Regions from separate parts of the Homo sapiens genome. Here region 2 is linked to region 1. Evidence: promoter capture Hi-C in 16 types of primary human blood cells and fetal thymus (Javierre and others, 2016). All regions are on one chromosome and are shown on one strand. Each heading gives the region's core, a stretch centred on a gene start or on the middle of the fragment in contact. The rest is flanking DNA. Distances are from core to core; before and after follow the strand shown. Region 1 holds the start of ALG8 (ALG8 alpha-1,3-glucosyltransferase). Region 2 overlaps USP35 (ubiquitin specific peptidase 35).

Evidence for each region. The method cuts DNA at HindIII sites, captures the fragments that hold promoters and counts their contacts. A CHiCAGO score of 5 or more calls a contact.
Region 2: a fragment that was not itself captured here is called in contact with the fragment with the promoter of ALG8 in region 1 in 4 of 17 cell types (total CD8 T cells, naive CD4 T cells, non-activated CD4 T cells and 1 more); the score reaches 6.9 in total CD8 T cells.

The regions. Positions count from the first base shown.
Region 1 is chr11:78,137,690-78,141,972 of GRCh38, reverse strand. It overlaps ALG8 (ALG8 alpha-1,3-glucosyltransferase), which reads left to right and starts at 2,347. Exons shown (of 13, transcript NM_024079.5): 1 at 2,347-2,479. The coding sequence starts at 2,385. It overlaps KCTD21-AS1 (KCTD21 antisense RNA 1), which reads right to left and starts at 2,180. Exons shown (of 3, transcript NR_102281.1): 1 at 1,901-2,180. RefSeq lists enhancers at 904-1,614, 1,775-1,884, 2,495-2,574, 2,655-2,764. The HindIII fragment of the contact is 5,506 bases long and covers 1-2,616 here.
Region 2 is chr11:78,190,651-78,194,995 of GRCh38, reverse strand. All of the region lies in intron 1 of USP35 (ubiquitin specific peptidase 35), which reads right to left. Among named protein-coding and RNA genes, the nearest start is that of USP35, 3.9 kb to the right of the region's middle. The HindIII fragment of the contact is 2,706 bases long and covers 1,187-3,892 here.

The DNA.
Region 1 (4,283 bases), core at 1,098-3,597:
AGTGAGCCGAAATTACGCCACTGCACTCCAGGCAATAGAGTGAGACTCCATCTCCAAAAAAAAAAAAAAATGCTTTTAAGAAAAAATGCAAGGCCTTGGAAGTTTTGGTTCTTCTTTCCTCTCCTGTTGCAGATTCACGTTACGGTTTTGGATGGGTGGCAGAAAGTGCATGTCACCTTCGGTGGCACGGTCTGCAGTGGGTGGGCCTCTCTACTGGAAGGTGACCACCTTTAGATACTGAGACAGCAAGTACGAGTGGCCTTCTTTTACCTTCTTTTAACTTATCCTTTTTTGCTGTCTGGTCATCTTCATTGGTCTTCTGCTTCTCGGTGTCAAGATCATCATCATCATCATCTTCAGCTGCCCATTTGACTGTAGCTATTACAGGAAAGTAATCGATTGTAAGGATGGAAGTTGGTTGGAATGATGTGAGGAAGGGGCCAAGGAATGCAGGCAACTTCTAAAAGCTGAAAAAGACAAGAAAAACAATCTCCCTGCAGAGCCTCTGGAAGCAACCAATCCAAATGACACCTTGACTTTACTCCAGTGACTGATTTTAGATTTCTGGTTTACAGAACTGTAAGAGAATAAATTTGTGTTGTTTTAAGCTACTAAGTTTATGGTAATTTCTTACAGCAGAAATAGAAAATTAATGCAAAGTGCCTTTAAAACATCTAAGTAGCTGGGCATGGTGGCGCACAACTGTAATCCCAATACTTTGGGAGGCTGAGGCAGGAAGATCACTTGAGCCCAGGAGTTTGAAACCAGCATGGACAATATAGGGAGATCCCATCTCTACACACACACACACACACGTTGCCACATCCCTGTGGTCCCAGTTACTCAGGAGGCTGAGGTGGGGAGGACTGCTTGAGCCCAGGAGATCGAGGCTGCAGTGAGCTGTGTTTGCACTATTGCCCTCCAGCCTGGGCCACAGAATGAGACCCTGTCTCTCAAAAACAAAACAAAAACATCTACGTGAGGTCAGGTAGCCAACTGGAGACCAGGGTCTGAAAGTGAGAGAAGAGTGCTGAGCTAGAAATCTGTGAATCATATTCACATGGGTGGCAGCTGAAGCTGTGGGAGGGCATAAACTCATATTAGGGAGGTGACACTGTCACCTACTTGCTGTGCATCTTTCAGCAAGATAATTAACTGATCTGACACATTATTGAGCATTTATTCTGTCCTGGAATCATATCAAGCAATTTACATGCATTCTCATTTAATCCTCACAACCAGTTTATGAGGCTGAAACTTTTTTTTTTTTAGACCAAAAGCATCTTGGATAAACAGGCCTGAGGCTTGCCCAGGCTGAAGTGCAATGGCGCGATCTCAGCTCACTGCAACCTCCGCCTCCCACGTTCACGCGATTCTCTAGCTTCAGCCTCCCGAGTAGGTGGAATTACAAGCGCCCGCCACCATGCACGGCTAATTTTTTTTTAATTTTTAGTAGAGACAGGGTTTCACCATATTGGCCAGGCTGATCTCAAACTCCTGAACTCAGGTGATTCGCCCACCTCGGCCTCCCAGTGTTGGGATTACAGGCGTGAGCCACCGCGTCCGGCCAGAAACCATTTTTATCTCCTATTTTCAAAAATAAATAAATAAATAAAAATTTTAAAAAAAGAAACTGAGGTTTAGAGTTTAGTTTGTCCAAGATCATACAGTAAAATAATGAGACAAGCCTAATTAAATTGCATGTGCCTCAGTCATTACGCAATCTGCGAGTTTGTTGGGCCTACTGAATCAGAATCCGAATTATTTTAACATGAACCGTAGGCTATTTGTACACTAAGCGTTAGGACTAGCCTCTACCCTGCTTCCAGAATGGGTTCCGCTCAAGCAGGAGGTGAGCCAAGAGCCTCGCTCAGAGTTCTAAAAACACAATGTTTCTCACCTCTGTATCTTTGCACATGCCATTCTCTAGCTGGATTTAATACTCCGGTGCAAGCGTCCAGGTTGGGAGCCCCCGCAGTTCTCTGAGGTACTTTTATCTACTGTAACTCTAGGGCAACAATCCTGGCTTCTCCACTAGTGCGTGAACGTCTCTAGCGTTAAGTTTTTTTCTCACCTAAGTATCCCCAATACTACACAGTGATGACCCAGCGCAAACGACCACTCTTTCAACGCAAGCATGAACTAGCTGATAAAACTTAAAAGTGGCTACAAACGCCTGCGCAGGAGCCCTTCCGGCCCGGGGTGAGACGCGGGTCTAAAGAAAAGGTGGGCGGGAGGTTTAAATAGCTGACTGCAGTCCCCGGACTGGCTGCGCCGCTCGCCGCATGCGCGCAGCTAGCGGGCACGGCTTCAGAGGGCTTTCTCCGCATGCGCGGGATCCCGGATGTGGATCAAGTTGGTGGGAAGCGTGCGGTGCCGCAGCAATGGCGGCGCTCACAATTGCCACGGGTACTGGCAATTGGTTTTCGGCTTTGGCGCTCGGGGTGACTCTTCTCAAATGCCTTCTCATCCCCACATAGTAAGGGACTCGCACGGCCAGGGGCTGGGCGGGGAGGCCCCGCGGTCGGTCAGGGCGGGAGAGAAAGGTGTGGATATCCCTGGGTATGAAGAGAAAACTTTAGGTCGTGTTTGTCGCTATCCTGCCTTTGCTAAGCTTTCTGTTTCGCCAGTTGTTACTTGACTTAGCCCCAGCTGGCTAGGTTCAGACCTGGCGCTGTCTGATTTGGAACAAATCACTTTAACGTTTCTGAACCTCAGGGTCCTCATCCTTAATAGGCAGTTAAGAACCTCTGCCTCCAACAGCCATTCAGCCAGTATTATCAGATGCCTGAGGTGCCAGGTACCGTTCTAACTCCCGGGAGATGCGGTGGTGAGCAAGACATTGCTGGTCCTTGCCCTCGAAGTTGGTGGGTGGAGCTAGACAAACAGGAACTTTTCAGATTGTGATAAAGGAAATAGAGGGTTACTAAGTGGCTGTGCGCTATTCCTTTAGAAGGTGATGTTTGAGTTGAAATTCAAAAAATGAAAAAGAATAAGTGATGTGGAAAGCAGTTCAGGCATAGGAAAGAGTAAGTTCAAAGGCCCTGTGGCAGGAAAGAAGTCAGAGCATTCTAGGAACAGAAAGTGCCCCTTGTGGCTGCAGAGCATTGAGGGAGAGGAGTGGCACAGCATGGGGTGCACTGGGGACAGATAACACAGGGTTTCGAAGACCACAGTTAGACTGCTGTGTAAAAAATGGATGTAGGGCCAAGACTGAAAGCGTGGAAACCAAGAAGCAACCATGAAATGGTGGTGTGTATACAGTAGGTACTCAGTATTTATTAATATTGGCTTCCGCCTTCCCTTCATCCTTCCTCTTTTTTCTTTTTCTCCCTCATCCCTTTTCTCCTTTCCCTCCCACTTCCTAGTTTAGGGTTTGTTTTATTGGTATCCTTTGATTCAGGCTCTTGGTGATCTCTTGTTGAATATGGGAGAGTCATATGTATAGAATGTAAGTCCATACTGATGCGTATATGTAATCATGTAAGTGGAATGTATATGTAGATTCAGTAAAATGATTAACTGTAGGTCTGTGCATAAGATTATTTCTTGCTTTAGTTGCCTCAGGCTAGAAATGTATCCTCAGAGTTGTTTTTTTTGTTTGTTATTTTTTTTTTTTTTGAGACAGTCTCGTCCCACTCTGTCACCCAGGCTGGAGTACAGTGGCACGATCTCAGCTTACTGCAACCTCTGCCTCCCGGGTTCAAACGATTCTCCTGCCTCAGCCTCCGGAGTAGCTGGGATTACAGGCTTGCACCACCGCGCCAGGCTAATTTTTGTATTTTTAGTAGAGATGGGGTTTCACCATGATGGCGGAGGGCTGATCTCAAATCTCCTGACCTCAAGTGATCCACCTGCCTCGGCCTCCCATAATGTTGGGATTACAGGCATGAGCCACCGTGCCTGGCCAGAGTTGTTATTTTGAATACTGCTCTTGGTCCAGGTTAAGAATGTATATAGCGCTCACTTTGGCAGCACATGTACAGGAATACCTCATTTTTTGTACTTTGCTTTATTGCACTTCACAGATACTGCATTTTCATTTTTTTTACAAATTGAAGGCTGCGGTAACTCTCCATTGAGCAACTCTATCAATGCCATTTTTCTAACATCATGTGCTCATTTTGTGTCTGTGTTACATTTTGGTAAATCTTGAAATATTTCACACTTTTTCATTGCTATTATATTTGTTATGATCTGTAATCAGTGATCTTTGATACTACTATTCTGATTGCTTTGGGGCAACACTATGGTGAACTTAATAAATGCTGTGTGTTCTGACT
Region 2 (4,345 bases), core at 1,290-3,789, 53 kb before region 1:
TCAGCTGAAAGTCACTTCATCAAGGAAGCCTCACCTGAGCTCCCTGCCTGGGTCAATCTCCCTTATTAAAAATTAGAACATCTTGTCCTTCTCCTTGGTAGCACTTGTCATGATTTCTTGATTGGGGTCAGCCTCCCCTCCAATGCTGTATATGGTTCTTGAGGGCAGCTTCAGGTTTTGTTCACCACAGTATCCCCAGCACCTAGCACAGTGCCCAGCAGACAGGCATTTGCTGGATGAGCAAATGCAGGGTGCAGTGTGAGTCATCTCTACCTTACTCCTCTGAGCCATAATAGCCTTCCTTCTGCCCTTCTCCTCCACCTGGCCTGTTTCCTGAAGACTTTGTCCCACACCAACCCACTTTGAGCCCTCTCATGCAGGTTCACATGGGCACAGCTTGCTCTCTTAACATCTAACACGTAATGCCTCTCCTGGAGCGCAGAACCATTTCTTTGCTTCGATGCCCAATCTAGGCAGGACCTGATATAAGACTCAGCAGACAACAGGTGTTTAAACTTATGGGCTCAGTAAAAACTACTCTTATGCCTGAGAACTGGAGCTAGAGTGTGGACAAGCCTTAAATTTCTGGGATAATAAGCTGGAAAGTTTTATTCAGAATCACAGATATTCTGGAACCCCAACTATGTACTAGACCCAGTGAGCTCCCTGCTCTGTTCTAGTTCTCAGCTGTGACCTAACCTCCATTGCTGCACGTGTTACGATACAAAGGGCCCATTTGTTTAAATATCTGTCTCTCTCACCAGGCTGAGCTCCACCAGGAAAGGACCAGGGTTTATTAGTCTGTGGCTAGCATCTCTCATGCCAAGAGTGTGTGCCTCTTAAGAGTTCACTGTTGGTTAGAGGTTGTAACCATGGCAGACATCAGTGGTTCCCAAATCCTGGCCTGCTCAGAAGCCTCAGAATGCCTCAGAAGCACCTGGGCACCTGCTACAAGCTCAGATGCGGCCGGGCGCGGTGGCTCACGCCTGTAGTCCCAACACTTTGGGAGGCCAAGGCAGGCAGATCACTTGAGCCCAGGAGTTCAACACCAGCCAAGGGTGGTGGCGAGCCCAGGAGGTCAAGGGTGAAGTAAGGCAAGATCGTGCCACTGCACTCCAGCCTAAGTGATAGAGTGAGACCCTGTCTCAAAAAAAGAAAAGAAAAAGTTCAGGGTCCACCCGAAGCTTCCTGAATGAGGAAATGAGGGAAATGATGTGTTCGATTCTGGGTTTTGTTGTTGTTGTTGTTGTTTTTGACTCTTTGAATGTGGCTCATCTGGGATACATTCTGGTTCCCATAAAGGTTACTTAGGCTCTCTGAGCTGGGCACAAGGAAGTTCTCAGAAAATGTCAACTCCTGTTGCTTCAGAAGCAAAGTCCTTGCCTTGAAGGAGCTTCCAGTCAGATGGGGGAGGCAGAAATGTTTGTAAGGGTGCCCCTGCAAGGTATAATCTCAAAAGGCCTATAAAGTGTCTTTAAAAACTGGTCTCCCAGCTGGGCACAGTGGCTCATGTCTGTAATCTTAGCACTCTGGGAGGCCGAGGTGGGGAGATGGCTTGAGCTCAGGAGGTTGAGACCAGCCTGGGCAACATGGCAAAACCCCATCTCTACAAAAAAAAAAAAAAAAAATTACATCAATTAGCCAGGCGTAGTGTCTCACACCTGCAGTCCCAGCTAGTTGGGGCTGAGACAGGAGGCTCACTTGAGCTTGGGAGGCGAAGGTTGCAGTGAGCTGAGATCACGCCACTGCACTCCAGCCTGGGTGACTAAGTGAGTTCCTGTTTCAAAAAAGAAAAAAGAAAAAAAATTTTTTTAACTCTCCCTTCAGCCCTGGTCCCCTTTCTAGGCAGTGCCCGTGACAAGGCAGTTGCTGTGGCCAACCTCCCCCACACAAACAGTCCATCCTCCCAGACCCCTGGGATGGCTAGTGGATTTCATATGCTTTCAACCCAGGATGCCAAGAAATCCTGGTACTCAGGCAGCCAAGAAGAAACCCTAATCCATGAGGCACTGGCATCATGTGTGAAGCAAGAGGGCATGGGGGCAGGCAGAAATGGAGTTCTGGAGACAGGGAAGACTCTGGTAGTAGAAAGAGTACTAGAAAGAGTAGAAAGAGTATCAGACTAGGAATGAGGAGTCCTACATTCTAGCCCTGACTCATTGTGTGACCCTCAGTAAATCATACCCATGAGCCTCTTTTCTGTAAAATGGGGACAAATGCTATTAGACTGAACCGCATGAAACCGAATGATCAAATGTTGGCAATTTCATGTTGTTCTACCTAACACCACATAAGCCTGGCAGCTGACAGTTCAAATAGAGCTGCTCCATGAGAGCTCTGATCTCCAAGGCCAGCCGGCAGCCTCTGCTCAGTCCGTAGCCTGGCCACAGCAAGCAAGCCCTGCCCACCTGCCCCAACTCCCACGCAGGCAGTCTGAGGACAGCTGTCACCATGGTCACCAGCAAACCCACTCAATATCTTGCATGCACTCAGACAAAAGGGTTTTAGAGGCTTGCACCTCACCTGGCCCCATCAGGCCAGGGAAGGGAGGACAAGGCCAGCTATCCCACTGGCAGGAATGAAGAAAGTGAGGCTCAGAGAGAGGAACATGGCCTTGGCAAAGCAGGATTAGAACCTGCACTCTGCCTCCCTCAGGAGGGCTGGATTAGCCTGCTAAGCCCCGGGTGAGGAGATGGCCTGTCCATGCTGGCTCTGACTCAAGAGACAGCTGCCCCGCACCAACCGCAGCAGCAAACAGCAGCCATGTCCTCCCCGAGGAGAGCCTGTGTTAAAAGCTGAAGATACAGGTTTTCTGCTTCAAAGTCATGGTGACCTTGGGTGAGCCCCTGCCTGGCTTCTTAGCCTTCTCATCTGGAAAATGGGGACTATTCCAAGCCTACCATTCACAGGGTTGAGACAAGGTATAAAAAAGATGAGGTCCTCATTAACACGGTGAAACCCCATCTCTACTAAAAATACAAAAAATTAGCCGGGCGTGGTGGCGGGCACCTGTAGTCCCAGCTACTCAGGAGGCTGAGGCAGGAGAATGGCGTGAACCCAGGAGGCGGAGCTTGCAGTGAGCCGAGATCATGCCACTGCACTCCAGCCTGGGGGACAGAGCAAGACTCCGTCTCAAAAAAAAAAAAAAAAAAAAGATGAGGGCCGGGCTGTCATGAGTCTATTTTTGGGCCACCTGGCACTGATGGGAGACACAGATACTGTCAGGGAAAGGAGACAAGGAGACACGCACTGCTGATCCTGCTGATTCTCCAAGGCATTTCCTCCATTAGCCCTCCCTGCCACTTCGGTGTTCCCAGCCCCACCCAGGATCAGACCCCTTGACTTCTTGCCTGGACTAGTGCAGTAGCCTCCTAACCCATCTCCCAATTCCCTCCCTCAATCCATCCTCCAACAGAGGCATGTGTCCTAGAGGAGAACAGAGTCCAGGCTTCGAGTCTAGCCCAGCCACCATGGAGGTAGGTGTTCTTTTACCTCTGTGATCCTCGGAATGCCCAAATAGAAGGTGACTACGTGCCCACCCCTTAGCCTTTCCCAGCCAGCGCTGCTGCTCCTCCCAAGCCCTTGCCTCATACCCCTCGCCCTACTGGCATGACAGCCTGAGGGGCGTCCCAGCAACACCAGCACACTCCAAGGCACGCAGTGAGCACTCAGGAAAATCCCAATCCCTCTGCCAAAAGGCCCAGATCCTTTCACCTGTTCCTCTCGGATGACCCTCAACATTTCTGCCGAGTGTTGACTGATCTCTGCTCCTGCACAGTTGAGCCTGACTTATCTCCATCACCCCAAAGCACCCTGTGTGTGTGTGTGTATGTGTGTGTACACAACTCCTATGCTCAGCCCCACTGCCACGCCCTGGGCCCCCGCTCAAGCTTCATCATCCCTCCTTGGTCTCTCCAGATGCAGCATCGTCAGATGGAGCTTATTACACGGTAAGCACCATTCCGTCCATGCCCCTGCTCAGAACTCTCAACACTCTCCAGCCCCTTGGACCCAGAATAAGGTCCAAACTCCTGAGCCGGACATGCAAGCCCTTTCTGTGACACTCAGCTGATGTGGGGCAGGGGTGGAGATGAACTCAAGCAACATTGTTCAGTGGAGACTCTGCAGACATTGGAGCAGGGGGCTTTTTCCTGACTGCTACTTTGCACAATGTCCCCTCTACTGAAAAAGGGCTTTTCCCTCTTCTCTCCTGGAAAATTCTGACTCACCCTTCAATGCCCAGCTCACATGCCCTCTCCTCTGGGAAGCCTTTCCTTTTCCCTCCACAATTCAAGTGTCTAAAGTTCTGGCCTCCAAGGCCCTCTTAGCTATTCTCATCCCTCTG